Regions from separate parts of the Homo sapiens genome. Here region 1 is linked to region 2. Evidence: promoter capture Hi-C in human tissues and cell types (Jung and others, 2019). All regions are on one chromosome and are shown on one strand. The core of a region is centred on a gene start or on the middle of the fragment in contact, and the rest is flanking DNA. Distances in the headings are between cores, read along the strand shown.

Region 1 (6,604 bases), core at 1,202-3,701, 260 kb after region 2:
AGGTCTCACTGTTGCCCAGGGTGAAGTGCAGTGGCATGATCATCGCTCACTGCAGCCTCCATCTCCTCAAGCAGTCCTTCCACCTCAGCCTCCAAGTAGCTGGGATTACAGGCACCCACCATCACACCCGGCTAATTCTTTGATTTTTAGTAGGGACAAGGTCTCGCTATGTTTCCCAGGCTGGTCTCAAACTCCTGAGTCTAAGCAGTCCTCCTGCCTCAGCCTCCAAAAGTGCTAGGATTACAGACATGAGCCACCACACCCTGTAGAAATTTTTTTGGTTTTGTTTGTTTTTCATTTTTGATGAAGAGTCTCGCTCTGTCACCTAGGCTGAAGTGCAGTGGCAGAATCTTGGCTCACTGCACCCTCTGCCTCCCGGGTTCAAGTGATTTTTGTGCCTCTACTCTTGAGTAGCTGGGACTACAGGCATGTGCCACCACACCCAGCTAATTTTTTGTATTTTTAGTAAAGACGAGGTTTCGCCATGTTGGCCAGGTTGGTCTCGAACTCCCTGCCTCAAGTATTCTACCTGCCTTGGCCTTGCAAAGTTTTAGGATTACAGGCAAAAGCCACTGCGCCCAGCCAGAATTTTTTTTTTTTTTCCAAGACGGAGTTTTGCTCTTGTCACCCGGGCTGGAGTGCAGTGGCACGATCTTGGCTCACCACAACCTCCACCTCCTGGGTTAAAGCGATTCTACTGCCTCAGATCTCCCAAGTAGCTGGGATTACAGGTGCCCACCACCATGCCTAGCTAATTTTTGTATTTTTAGTAGAGATGGGGTTTCACCATGTTGTCCAGAGTGGTCTCCAACTCCTGACCTCAGGTGATCCATCCGCCTCAGCCTCCCAAAGTACTGGGATTATAGGTGAAAGTGACCGCACCCAGCCAGAAATTTTTTAAAATCTAGAAAAATATGCCAGGCGCAGTGGGAGGCGGGCAAATCACTTGAGGTCAGAAGTTCAAGACCAGCCTGGCCAACATGGTGAAACCCCATCTCTGCTAAAAAAGTTAGCTGGGCGTCGTGGCGCCCGCCTGTAATCCCAGCTATTCAGGAGGCTGAGGCAGAAGAATCGCTTGAACCCGGGAGGCGAAGTTTGCAGTGAGCCGAGATCGCGCCACTGCACTCCAACCTGGGAGACAGAGCAAGACTCCATCTCAAAAAAAAAAAAAAAGTAGAAAAATATAAAGATGAGGCTGGGCGCAGTGGCTCACGCCTGTAATCCCAGCACTTTGGGAGACCGAGGTGGACAGATCACGAGGTCAGGAGTTTGAGACCAGCCTGGCCAAAATGGTGAAACCCCATCTCTACTATAGATACAAAAAATTAGCCGGCGTGGTGGTGCGTGCCTGCAATCCCAGCTACTCGGGAGGCTGAGGCAGGAGAATCGCTTGAACCTGGGAGGGGGAGGTTGCAGTGAGCTGAGATCACGCCATTGCACTCCAGCCTGGGTGACAGGGTGAGACTCCATCTCAAAAAAAAAGAAAATTACACAGATGAATACAACCACCAACCATATACCCACCATTAGAAGTGATAATTGTTAACACTTTCTCATGTTTGTTTCATCTTCTCTTTTTGTTAATAAAAGAAATAAAGCGTTACAGATAAAGTTGGTAAAAGATGAAGTCTCTTTTTGGCCCCTGGGGCTAACCCTGTTCCCTTAACAACTGTTGTGGATATAGTGTATTTGGTGTGACTCCTTTGATGTTCCTTCCTATACTTTCATTGTGGCACTGAGCATCCTGGTACTGATCTCCAGGTCCAAAGTGCAAGAACTTCTGTACTTCTCTAGAGCAAATAGTTAGAAGAGGAAGGTACATTAAAAAAAAAAAATTTTTTTTTTGAGACAGAGTCTCACTCTGTGGCCCAGGCTAGAGTACAGTGGCACAGTCACACATCACTGAAGCCTCACCCTCCTGAATGCAAGAAATCCTTCCATCTCAGCCTCCCTAGTAGCTGGGACTACAGATGTGCACCACCACGCCCAGCTAATTTTTTTATTTTTTGTAGAGACAGGGTCTCGCTATGTTGTCTAGGCTGGTCTTGAACTCCTGGCCTCAAGTGATCCTTCTACCTCGGCCTCCCAAAGTGCTGAGATTACAGACATGAGCTACCACACCTGGCCAGAAGGAGCATTTTAAATTCTATTAGATACTCACCGATTGGATCCCAAACTGGTTGCTCCAAAATGTAGACTTCTGCTACCGGCCGTGTAGAAGAGTGCGCATTTCCCCACAAGTTAAGCTTTTCAGTTTTTGCTAGTCTCATGAGTGAGAAGTAATTGATGCCTCGTTATAATTGTAATTTGCTTTTTCCTAATTACTAATGAGGTTAGACATCTTCTGAGTGTGTTGGCTATTTGGGTTTCCTTTGCTGTGAATTGTTTACCCCTAACCTTTGCCTGTGTTTTATCTTGGCATTATTTGTCTTTTTTTGTTACAGATCAGCAGGTGTTTTTTAACACAAGGGATGTTACTGTTTGTTCTTTAGTTTGCAGACTCTCCTGCTAGCCTGTCTATCCTAGCTTTGGCGTCTTTTGATGAAAACTTTTAATTGTCATGTAGTCTGAACTGTCTTGGTCTTGGAGTGTTTTTGTTTTTTTGAGACGGAGTCTTGCTCTGTCGTCCAAGCTGGAGTCCAGTGGCACAATCTTGGCTCACTGCAAGCAACCTCCACCTCCTGGGTTCAAGCAGTTCTCCTACCTCAGTCTCCCCAGTAGCTGGGACTACAGGTGCTCGCTACCACCCCCAGCTAATTTTCTTGTATTTTAGTAAAGACAGGGTTTCACCATGTTGGCCAGGCTGGTCTCGAACTCCTGACCTCAAGTGATCCGCCCGCCTTATCCTCCCAAAGTGCTGGGATTACAGGCGTGAGCCACTGCACCTGGCCTGGAGTGTATTGTTTTAATAAATGTCTAAAGTAGCCACGGGGGCACTGAGACGGGACCTCTGCTCCTCCTTTTCCTGTAGCTCCATGTGTCCTACCAGAAGTACTTCAAGCTGGAGCCCCTCCAGGCTTACCATCGGGTCATCAGCTTGGAGGATTTCATGGAGAAGCTGGCACCCACCCACTGGCCCCCTGAGAAGCGGGTGGCATACTGCTTTGAGGTGGCAGCCCAGCGAAGCCCAGATAAGAAGACGTGCCCCATGAAGGTGGGTCCTGTGGGTTCGGGGGCCCTTTCTTCCTGTTCCATGTCCTCTAGGCCCCCAAGACTATGTCATGGCAAAATGTGGGGAAAAGCACCAGAAGGACTTAGAATAGAAAGATGGAGATTTAAGTCCTGTTTCTGGCATTTGTTAGCGAAGCTGCATCACCTTGGGCAGAAGACTTTGCTTCTCTGAACCTTCATTTCTACCTACAAAATAGAGATGCCAGTCCCTGCTCTGTCTCACTCCTAAAGTGTCATGAGGGCCAGGTGAAAAAGTGCTTGTAAACTGCAAAGTGCCACATCAGTAATAATAACTAATATTCATGTAGCACTTACTATGTATGTCAGGTACCACGCTAAGAGCTTTACATGTATCAACTCATTTAATACTCACACTGTTCCATGAGGAAAATACTTATAATATCCCCACTTCATAGAGAGGACACCGAGGATGGCACAGAGAGGGTCAGTGTCTTACCCAGGATCACACAGCAAACAAGTGGTAGAGCTGGGATTCAACCTTAGGTAATTTGGCACCATTGTCTACCCACTTAACTTGAATACCTTCCTGCATCTCAGCAGGTAAATGAGAGGCTGTCATATCTTATTAAAAGAAATTTATACATTTCTGGCACTTTGGAAATAAACCCCCAAGTATGTCTTTCGGTGTATGTGCTAAAGTCTTGGGAAAGTGGTTGGAAGAACTATGAAATTTGAGAAAGGAGACCTAGCTCACAGCCCCAACAGTGCCCTTACTGGCTGTGTAACCTTGGGTAAGTGTCTGACCCTCAGTGGGCCTTGGTTTCCACCTTGAAAATGAAGGCATTGGATTAGCCAATCTTGAATGTCTCTTGAAGCTCTAGTCCTTGGTTCAAAATCCAAGGTCTGCTTCTCCCCAGACCCTCATCAGTGCTGCTGGGTCAGCAGGATGTGACATGTGAACAGGAAAGACTCTCCTGCTGGAATCCAGAATTGAAGCCACGGCACTCTGCTCAGCCCCTGGCCTAGGAATTGCAGAGTGACATTTCTCCTAGGCCATCCTGTGAGAGTGTTTTGGCCTGAGTCACATCACCCAGCTTCCCCCACCTACACTTCCCTGGCCCCATCCCCAAATGGCTTTCCCTCCCCATCAGTAAGCCTTCCACCACTCTCTTTCTGCAGGAAGGAAACCCCTTTGGCCCATTCTGGGATCAGTTTCATGTGAGTTTCAACAAGTCGGAGCTTTTTACAGGCATTTCCTTCAGTGCTTCCTACAGAGAACAATGGAGCCAGAGGTACTTGGAGGGGGTAGCGTTTCTGGGTTTAGGGGAGGCGCATGGAGCTCATGAGCATTCAGCACCTTCTGGCACTCTCCCCATCTTCCCAACTCTGATGTATGAGACCAAAGGTGCAGGTGCTCTGTCTGTTGAACTTGGAATCCTGTGTGATCTGTTCCCATGTCCACGCCTGACACGGTGGAACATTGACCCGCCATGAGATTGAGAAAGAGTTCATCGGTTGATAAGGGATGTCATAAAAAGAACATTCTGCAGTCGCATGAGTCTCAATTTCCTCCTCTAGGCGTGAGAATCACTCCTGTGTTACCTTACTCTTCCCAAGGTGAAACTGGAAGCAGCTTCTAGAGAACAGCTTCAGGTGCAGACCGAGAAATGACGTCATCCTGATAATTATTGGACGTGTTTATTAATTGCACCCCATTAGCCCCTGTTTTTAAAAAATATAGGTTAGCAGGACGTGGGCACAGGCCGTGAAACATTTATAGGGCGCCTGTCACGTGTGAGACATAGTAATCAGAGGCCAATGGTGATGTGTGAAAATGAGGATGACCAGCTCTGGTTTTCTAGGAGCTATGGTCTCATAATGACAATAATCAGCATAGTGTACTTGTCCTTAATGTTATAGCATGGCAGGAAAGACCATGGGCTTAGAAGGCAGACATTGGTTAGGAGGTGCAGGGAACATACTAATTCATGTGCGGTCAAAGCACTTGGCATTTAATAGGGCAAAGGTAAACAGATGTAGAGAAATGAGTCTCATGCCTGTAATCCCAGCACTTTGGGAGGCCAAGGTGGGTGGATCACTTGAGCCTAAGAGATCAAGGCTGCAGTGAGCCATGATGGTACCCCTGCACTCCAGCCCAGGTTACAGAGCAAGGGCCTGTCTCAGCAAAACAAAACAAGCACAGGCCAAGGAGTGAGATAGCCAGCGCTGATGGTATCTGCCTCGTAGTGCATGAAGTGCATGTCATACACTAAGCAGCCAGCCAGTGTTGGCTGTCAGTGTTATTACTCACATGCTTTATTTTATTTAAGACTTTGAGATAGTTCATGAAGTGGGTATTATTATCAATTTCCATTTTATAGGTGAGGAAACTGAGCCCAGTGAAGTTAAATAACTTCCCAAGGTCATTGAGCTGTTGAGTGGACAGCTCAGGTCTGTTTGTAAATCTTTAATAAATAACAACAGCTAAGATTCATTTAGTGTCTTCTATGTGCCAGACACTGTTCTAAGTCTTCACAGGTATTGACTCACTTAATCTTTCCCTGAGTCTGTGGGTTGTTACTGCCATCTGTGCTTTACACTTAGAGAAATTGAAGCAGAAAGGAATAAGGTCCCTTGCCCAAGGTCATAAAGCTTGAAGTTGCAGAGCTTGGTTTTGAACCCAGAAGTCTGAATCCAAAGCACCAGTTACTTTATATATTTATATTTGAAATGGGTCTTGCTTGTCTCCCAGGCTGGAGTACAGTAGCATGATCATAACTCACTATAACCTCAAATCCCTGGGCTCAAGCAATCCTCCCCGCTCCGCCTCCCAAGCAGCTGGGAGTGCAGGCATGTGCCACCATGCCTGACGAATATTTTGTTTTGTTTTGTACAAACAGGGTCTTGCTATGTTGCCCAGGCTGGTCTTAAACTCCTGGCCTCAAGTGATCCTCCCACCTCAGCCTCCCAAAGTGCTGGGATTACAAGCATGAGCTGCTGCGCCCAGTCCCAAAGCACCTGTTCTTAATCACAGTGGATTAAATAGCTGTGCCTTTAACAGCTGCCAGTTCCCTTCTGGGACTTGCCTTTGGACCTAGCTTTGGACCTAGTTCATGTGCCACTGAGGATCCTCAGTCATGGCAGATTTAAATCTTCCTCATTGTTGATCCCAGATAGCACACTCCCATTCTCTGCCTGCATGGTTCTCCCCCATTCACCTCCGAATGACCTGGAGCTATTGCCAGAAGGCAGACCTGCCCTCAAAGGATGGAGATTTGCCCATATTGACAATATGCCAGGAAAAAAAGAAAGAAAAAAAAGCCACCAACTCTAAAAGCAACTCCAAAAGCAAATTCCAAAAAGCTAGAAAAAGCACACAATCCTAGTAGGAAGAGAAAGGACAATGGTGCATGGGGAGTGTTGTTGAAACACTTGTTTATTGCCCCATAGCTTTGTTTGAGTTCATTGAGTT
Region 2 (7,149 bases), core at 1,478-3,977:
CCCAGCACTTTGGGAGGCCGAGGCAGGTGGATCACTTGAGGCCAGGACCTCGAGACCGGCCTGGCCAACATGGCGAAACGCTGTATCTATTAAAAATACAAAAATTAGCTGGGTGTGGTGGCACACGCCTGTAATCTCAGCTACTCAGGAGGCTGAGGCACAAGAATCACTTGAACCTGGGAGACAGAGGTTGCAGTGAGCCAAGATCATGCCACTGCACTCCAGTCTGGGTGACAGAGCAAGGCTCTGTCTCCAAATAAATAAATAAATGAATAAATAAAAGAACAGCAAGGAGACCAGTGTAGGTGGAGTCATGTTGGGGGTGGGGGGAGTAGAGATGATATTGGCACACTCATGGATTCATGGGGGCTGGATTACTCGGTCTTGTAGGACCTCTGGATTTTACTCAGGTGAGATGAGAAGCAACTGGAAGATTCTGCACATTCTAGTGTACTTTCAACAAAATGTAAACTTCCTCCCTTAGCCCCCAAGACCTTTCATTATGGCCTGGTCTCTGTCCCTCTCTCCAGCCATACTTACTCCCCATTTGCTTCCACTGCCACAGCCACTTGGCCTCATCTAAAGTGTCCCATTCTTCTGGATATATATTCTCAACACCCACCCCAAGTCCAATTCCATCTCTGGCTTTCTTACAATTTTCAATTACGCATTTTACGTTGTTTTCCTCATCTGTAAAGCACAAGGGCAGGAACCATCAGTTTTATACACCCCCGGCACTCTCTCAGTGTCTGCCATCGTTGATAAGCCAGGAGCTAACGACCTGTCACTGAAGTGAGCAGGCAAAATCCTGAACCACAGTCTGTGCCAGAACTGCAAAATTTGCTCCCCCATCTCCCCGGACTGTTTCAATTTCCCACAAGGCTGAGTTATACAGCTGTGACCTCCTGCCTGATCTCTATCAGGAACAAGGTAAAGGCCTTAAAGGAAAACGGAACAGGCCTCCAGGGCTGCACTGAGAAAATTTCAACTTACCAGAGAGGCTGAGATCCTTCTGCAGGGCCCTCAGGCCCTCTCGATTCTGATTCCTTTTAGTGTCCAGGTCCACAATCTGAAAACCACAGGGACAGGAGGGAACTCAGCTATCTCTTGCCCCAAGCTGTCACCTCTTGACAGACAAGGGTTGCAGAGGCAATGCATTATTCCTGATTACATTCAACGTCCTGCCTAAAATGGATTGATGTGTGAATGTATTTCTTCTCTCACTCAGCTTCCTGGTCTTAAAGACAATGCTTTGTGCAGCTGCCCTCTCCCCAGAAAAGATGCTGAGAAAACATGTGCTGACTAAATGGGAAATTCTGCATTATCCACTCGAACTTTAGGGCATATCAGAATCACCAGGGGAGTGGAAACCCTTCCCCTACACACTGTGATTAAGCAGGCCTAATGTTTATTTTTGGACAAACTTCTCCAGCTGATTCTGAACTAGTAATATGAGAAACCCAACAATACTAGATTGGAACAGCAGGATTGGGGGCACTGAGACAGTGGTAACAACACAATAGCTACTAAGGAAGTGACGCAGTAGTACAGTATACTGCACGAGTGCTGGTTCTGGATTTGGAATACCCAGGTTCGAATCCTGCTATCTGCCTCAAGCTGTGTAATTTCACCTTCCTATTTACTCCTCCTCAAAATGGAGCTACGGACAGTACCTACCTTACAGGTTATTGAGCCAGCAATTAAATGACTTAACACAGTACCTGGCACATAGTAAGTAGCTGATAAACTTTAACTGCTCTTATTCTCATCCAGCACACCCTGATCCAGTACTTAATTTGACAGGATCTTGCCCAAGTTTTCCCCTTCTCAGTAAATACCTGACCCTTCTAACTGGAGATGAGAGGGAGTCACGACTCCCCCGGCTCCACTACCACGGCCTACTGAGTCTGTCTCCAAAATACATTTCTGACCCCTTCACTTCTCTCCACCACCACTACCTAGTCCAAATCCATCTCTGGTCTGGACCATACCAATGGCCCCTCACCCATCTCCCTGCCTCCGCCCTTGCCCACCTATATTCTGTATTCCACACAGCAGCCAGGGGGGATCCTTTTAAAACCTAAATCCAATTACGTCACCCTCCTTCCCCCAGGAACTCCCCTCAAAAACTTGGCACTTAAAACAAGACACCCCATAAACAGGGCGCCACCTTCCCCCACGTCCCCACCCCTGCCCGGTCACAAGGCCCCCTCAGGCTTCTTTTCGGTTCCAGCTCTCCCCTGAGGGCCTTTACAGGGCGGTGCCCCTAGATCAACCATGGGGCCGGGAAGTGCATTTTGAAACAGGTGCTCAGGGAAACGGCCCAGAGCATGATGGGTCGAGATCCACAGAGCATGGCAAGGGGCAGAGAAAGGATGAAGAGAGAGGAATGTCCAGCATAGCGCAGGCGCTCACTTAGTAGCGGCCGAATATTTATCGGCCCAGGTCTGTCGCCTCGGAGCCGTTAACCGCCTGTCCAGGTCAACTCACTGCGACCCCGCGCGCTTTCCCACGGCGCCGGCCGCCAGGCCCCAGCGCCGCGGAGGGGCCTCTCACCTGCCGCTTGTCCGCCAGCACCTCCTCGGCGAGCTCCTCCACTTCTACAAGGTACCGCAGCACTCGCTCTGCCTCGGGTGATAGCATAGCGCCCACCAACTCCGCTTGCGGCTCTCGCGCGACCCCGGGATCTCCGCTTCGACTCCCGCTGCGCACGCGCCGCTCTCTAGGTGCTTCCGGCGCGCCTGCGCAGTTAAAAGAACGGTGGTGCGCAGGCTCTAACACTAGTGCGCCAGCCGGCTGCGAGAGGCGGGGCCTAGCTTTGGGGGCGGGGCTGGAGCGCCCTCTGCAGGCTCAGAGAGCTCAGTCCTCGGGCTGCCTCTGACCCGTTACTCCCTCGGTTCATGCTTCTTGAGCACTTATTATGTGCCAAGCAGTTTTATGTGCTTAGGATGCAGCAGTGAACACAACAAAATCCCTGCCCTCATGGAACTTCATCCTAGTGGGAAACACCGACAATTAATGGCAAAACAATTATATACCGTGGCAGGTAGTGATTAGGATCTGGGAAATATTATTCTTCCCCTGGCTAAGAAACACCAAGAAGGCCCATGTGGCAGTGTGACTTATGTTTAATCTCTGACACTTTCAGTTTCTAATTTATAAAAAGGGGGTGAATAAAAATCCGCCTCAGTGTCTCTCCACAGGATCGGAAGGAAGCAGGAATCAGCTGGGCGCAGTGGCTCATGCCTGTAATCCCAGTACTTTGGAAGGCCAAAGCGGGGGGATCACTTGAGCCCAGGAGTTCGAGACCAGCTTGGGCAACACAGTAAAACCTCCGTTTCTACTAAAAATACAAAAAAAAAAAATTAGCTGGGTGAGGGGGGGCGCGCCCGTTGGTCCCAGCTACTCAGGAGGCTGAGGCGGGAGGAGCACCTGCATCTGGGGAGTCGAGGCTGCCCTGAGCTATGATGGCACCACTGCACTCCAGCCCGGGTGACAAAACGAGACTCTGTCTCAAAAAACAAAGGAAGCAGTAATCACTTTTAATTCCGTTTAACCAGAGTTCACTTGAGCCCCTGTGTTGGGCCCAATGTCCAGAGTAGCTGGCCTATACATAAGGAAGGGACTTGAAAACTATGGGCAGTAAGCAATGAAGTGCTAGCTCAGAAAAGCAGGTGGGTGTGGGTGGTAGGATTGGGAGGACTTCCCAGAGAAGGCAGGCAGGTGGAAAATGGTTACCATCAGAACCAGAGGGTTCCCACGAGGTCTTCACGCCCAAACTCCTCATTGGATAGCTGGAAAAAACAAACCTCAGAGAGAGGCAAGGCTTTGAAAAGAAGGTGAGGGGTGAGCCATGTGGATGCCTAGGAGAAGAGTGTTCCAGGCAGAGGGAACAGCCAGCGTATGTGGAACAGAATGGGCGGGGGGGAAGCAGGCAGGAGGTCAGAGGGAAGGAGGCATTGAGCCCACATGGCTGTAAAAGGCGCTGGGAAAGGACTTTGAAAGTCTAAAGAGCAGAACCGATATTATCACTCTGATGTCTCGCCTCCCTGATTCCAGCGTTTTATTCTCTCCTTTTGACCTCTTGTAACCAAGCCCCTTCACACCCCTTGCCTTACTTGAGTGTCAAAGCAACCTTTGTATGGATGGGATTATTACTGCCCCATTTCACAGCTGCAGACTGAGGCCAGGAGAAAGGCAGTGCCTCATCACACAGCAAGCCAGGAGTGCCTGGTGTCCATGCCATTTCCGGACCCTGAAAAAACCCTCCCCAAAAATTGTGGCCCCAGAAGCCCCAGCAGCACCTCTATGTTGCCTAGCCATTGGCTGCCTTCAACTACCAGAGGCAGAGCTAATTTTTCCTTCAGCCACCTGGTGTGGGGAAGGAGGGAGATTCATTAAGGATTCCTCACTGAGGGTGAATTTGTCGCCAAACCCAGGATGTTTTGTATAAACACCTTCTGGTTCAGAAATGCAGGCACAGGCCCTGAGAAGGAAAGGGGGATGTTTGCCAAAGCAGAAATGGGGCTCACCAGGCATCCCTCGGCCTGGACCCCAGCACTGCGTCTCCTCCACCTTGGGACCCACAGAGGGCTGGACCAGGTTGACCCTTGACCCCTACCACATGGGCCTGGATGGGGAGAGGCTGAGGGAGGCTCCCACATTAGCAGCTTCTTGGCGGTAACTGGCCTTTAGAGGCCACCCCTGGCCACTGGAAATGTTGGGGAGGGGAATCATAGTCATTTCCAAGACTTTGAAATGGTCAGACCCAGAAAGACTCTCGGAGAGCATTTCAATTTCAGAGCCATTTATTTCACAATTATGTATTGACTTCCCAGGCCCTGTGATAGGGATTCTGCCATGAGCAAAACTGGACATGGTCCCTGCTCTCAGGAATCTCCCAGTCTGGTGAGAGAAACAATCAACATAAAACAAGTAAATATATCATATGTCAGGTGGTAAAAAGTGCTACCAAAAAAATAGCGGCTTGATGTGGGGGCTCACACCTGTAATCCCAATACTTTGGGAGGCCAAAGTGGAGAATCACTTGAACCCAGGAGTTCGAGACCAGCCTGGGAAACATAGCAAGACCCCCATCTCTACCAAAAAAATAAAAATTAAAAAGTTAGCCAGATGTAGTGGTGTGCGGCTGTTGTCTCAGCTACTCAGGAGGCTGAGGTGGGAGGATCACTTGAGCACAGGAGTTCAAGGCTGCAGTGAGCTACAATCGTGCCACTGTAACCCAGCCTGGGTGACAGAGTGAGACCCTTTCTCTAAAAAAGAAAAGAAAAGAAAGAGAGAAAGAAAGAAAAAGAAAGAAAGAAGGAAAGAAAGAAAGAAAGGAAGGAAGGAAGGAAGGAAGGAAGAAAGGAGGGAAGGAAGGAAGGAGAAAAGAAAAGATAAGAAAAGAAAAGATAGCACAGGACAAGGTGGAGGTGGAATAATGGAGGGGCTATTTGAGATAAGCTGGTCAGAGAGGGTGTCTTTGAGGAGATGGCATTTGAACAGAAGTGTGGAGGAGATGAGGGGGTGAGCCTTGTGGATATCTAGGGGAAGAGCATTCCAGGCAGAGGGAACAGCCAGTGTATTTGAATAGAATTAGTGAGGGGGAGAGGGTAGGACAGAGAGGAGAAGGAGACATTGAGCACACAGGGCTGTGGAAGGTGCTGGCAGTGCCCCACCCAAAATCCACTAGGGCCTCCCCAGAGGTCACCTGCAGACACTGCTGTGTATGCCTGTGGCTTCCTGCTTCTCTCTGCTCATGGATGCAGGTTGAGAGGGGAATGCAGTGAATTAATATCCACGAGTGTGAACTCCTACCAAGAAAAGAGAGTCGTTAGTGACTGTATACTCTAGCTTCTTTGCCCCTCTGTGAGAGACCCAAGAGGAGGCTGCTATAATCATCTAGGCAGGAGAGGGTGGCCACTGCACCAAGAGATAGCAGTGGGGGTGGTGACCAGTGGTGGGATTCTCAGGGCCTTTGCACATACTCCCCCATCGTTCTGGATTAATTTTCTCCCATGCCTTTATTCACGTGTCACTATTCCATATCCCCCACTGCTCAGCTTGGGGTTACCTCCTCCTGAGGGTCAAGAGTCCTCTCTGGGCCCCCACAGTTTTTTGGACTTCCCTTGTCTCTGTACTTCCCATACCATCTTTGTTCTCTAAACACCTTGCTTTGTAATCATGAGCTCCCCAGGGCAGAGACCTTGTCTGTCTTGTTCACTGGAAAAGTGTCCCCCTCTCTGGGTCATCACCCACCTCCCTGCTGCTGCTCACACAAGCCAGGCGTGGTCCTGCCTCAGGGTCTTTCCACTGGCTGCTGCCTCTGCCTGCACTTTTCCCTGATGTCTACATGGTTCCTTCCCTCACCATCTACCAGCTTTTTTTTTTTTTTTTTTTAAGATGGAGTCTCACTCTGTTACCCAGGCTGGAGTGCAGTGGCACAATCTTGGCTCACTGCAACCTCCACCTCCTGGGTTCAAGTGATTCTCCTGCCTCAGCCTCCTGAATAGCTTGGATTACAGGTGTGTGCCACCATGCTCAGCTAATTGTTGTATTTTTTTAGTAAAGACAGGGGTCTCACCACATTGGCCAGGCTGGTCTCAAACTCCTGACCTCAGGTAATTTGCTTGCCTCGGCCTTCCGAAGTGCTGAGAATACAGGCATGAGTCACCACGTCTGGCCCAGTCTTTTCTTAAATGGCACCTTTTCAATGGAGCCTGCCCTGACCACCATGTTTAAAATGCAACTTCTGCCCCTCCTGCTACTCCTGATCAACTTCCTCTGCTCTAGTTTTTCTTTTTCTTTCTTTTCATCATAACTTTTGTCACCTCCCAGCATGCCTTATAATTTACTTATGGTTATTGTTCATCTCCCTCTGCTAGAAGAGAGGCTCCTTGAGGGCAGGAATCTTTCATTCATTTCTTCACTGATGTCTCTCAAATGTCTAGAACAGTGCCTGGCTCCCACAGTAGGTGCTTGATAAACAATTTTGAATGAATGAATTAATGAGCAGAGTCAGAATTCTACTTAAGGCAGATTCTCTCTGAGGCCAGATTCTTAAAGGTGAGGGCTGGGATCATGCCTTATCCACTAAAGTACGGGGATTGGGTTTGTTCTCATATGCTGGGAAGCTGCTGGAGGGTG

Evidence for each region. The method cuts DNA at HindIII sites, captures the fragments that hold promoters and counts their contacts. A contact is called where the count stands out against the background at its distance.
Region 1: a contact is called between a fragment that was not itself captured here and the fragment with the promoter of PDRG1 in region 2, in 1 of the 25 tissues and cell types used here (mesenchymal stem cells).

The regions. Positions count from the first base shown.
Region 1 is chr20:32,212,298-32,218,901 of GRCh38, forward strand. It overlaps POFUT1 (protein O-fucosyltransferase 1), which reads left to right. Exons shown (of 7, transcript NM_015352.2): 3 at 2,972-3,154; 4 at 4,312-4,424. Among named protein-coding and RNA genes, the nearest start is that of POFUT1, 7.7 kb to the left of the region's middle. The HindIII fragment of the contact is 3,127 bases long and covers 889-4,015 here.
Region 2 is chr20:31,949,319-31,956,467 of GRCh38, forward strand. It overlaps PDRG1 (p53 and DNA damage regulated 1), which reads right to left and starts at 2,728. Exons shown (of 5, transcript NM_030815.3): 1 at 2,557-2,728; 2 at 994-1,069. The coding sequence starts at 2,643. The HindIII fragment of the contact is 6,454 bases long and covers 1-4,459 here.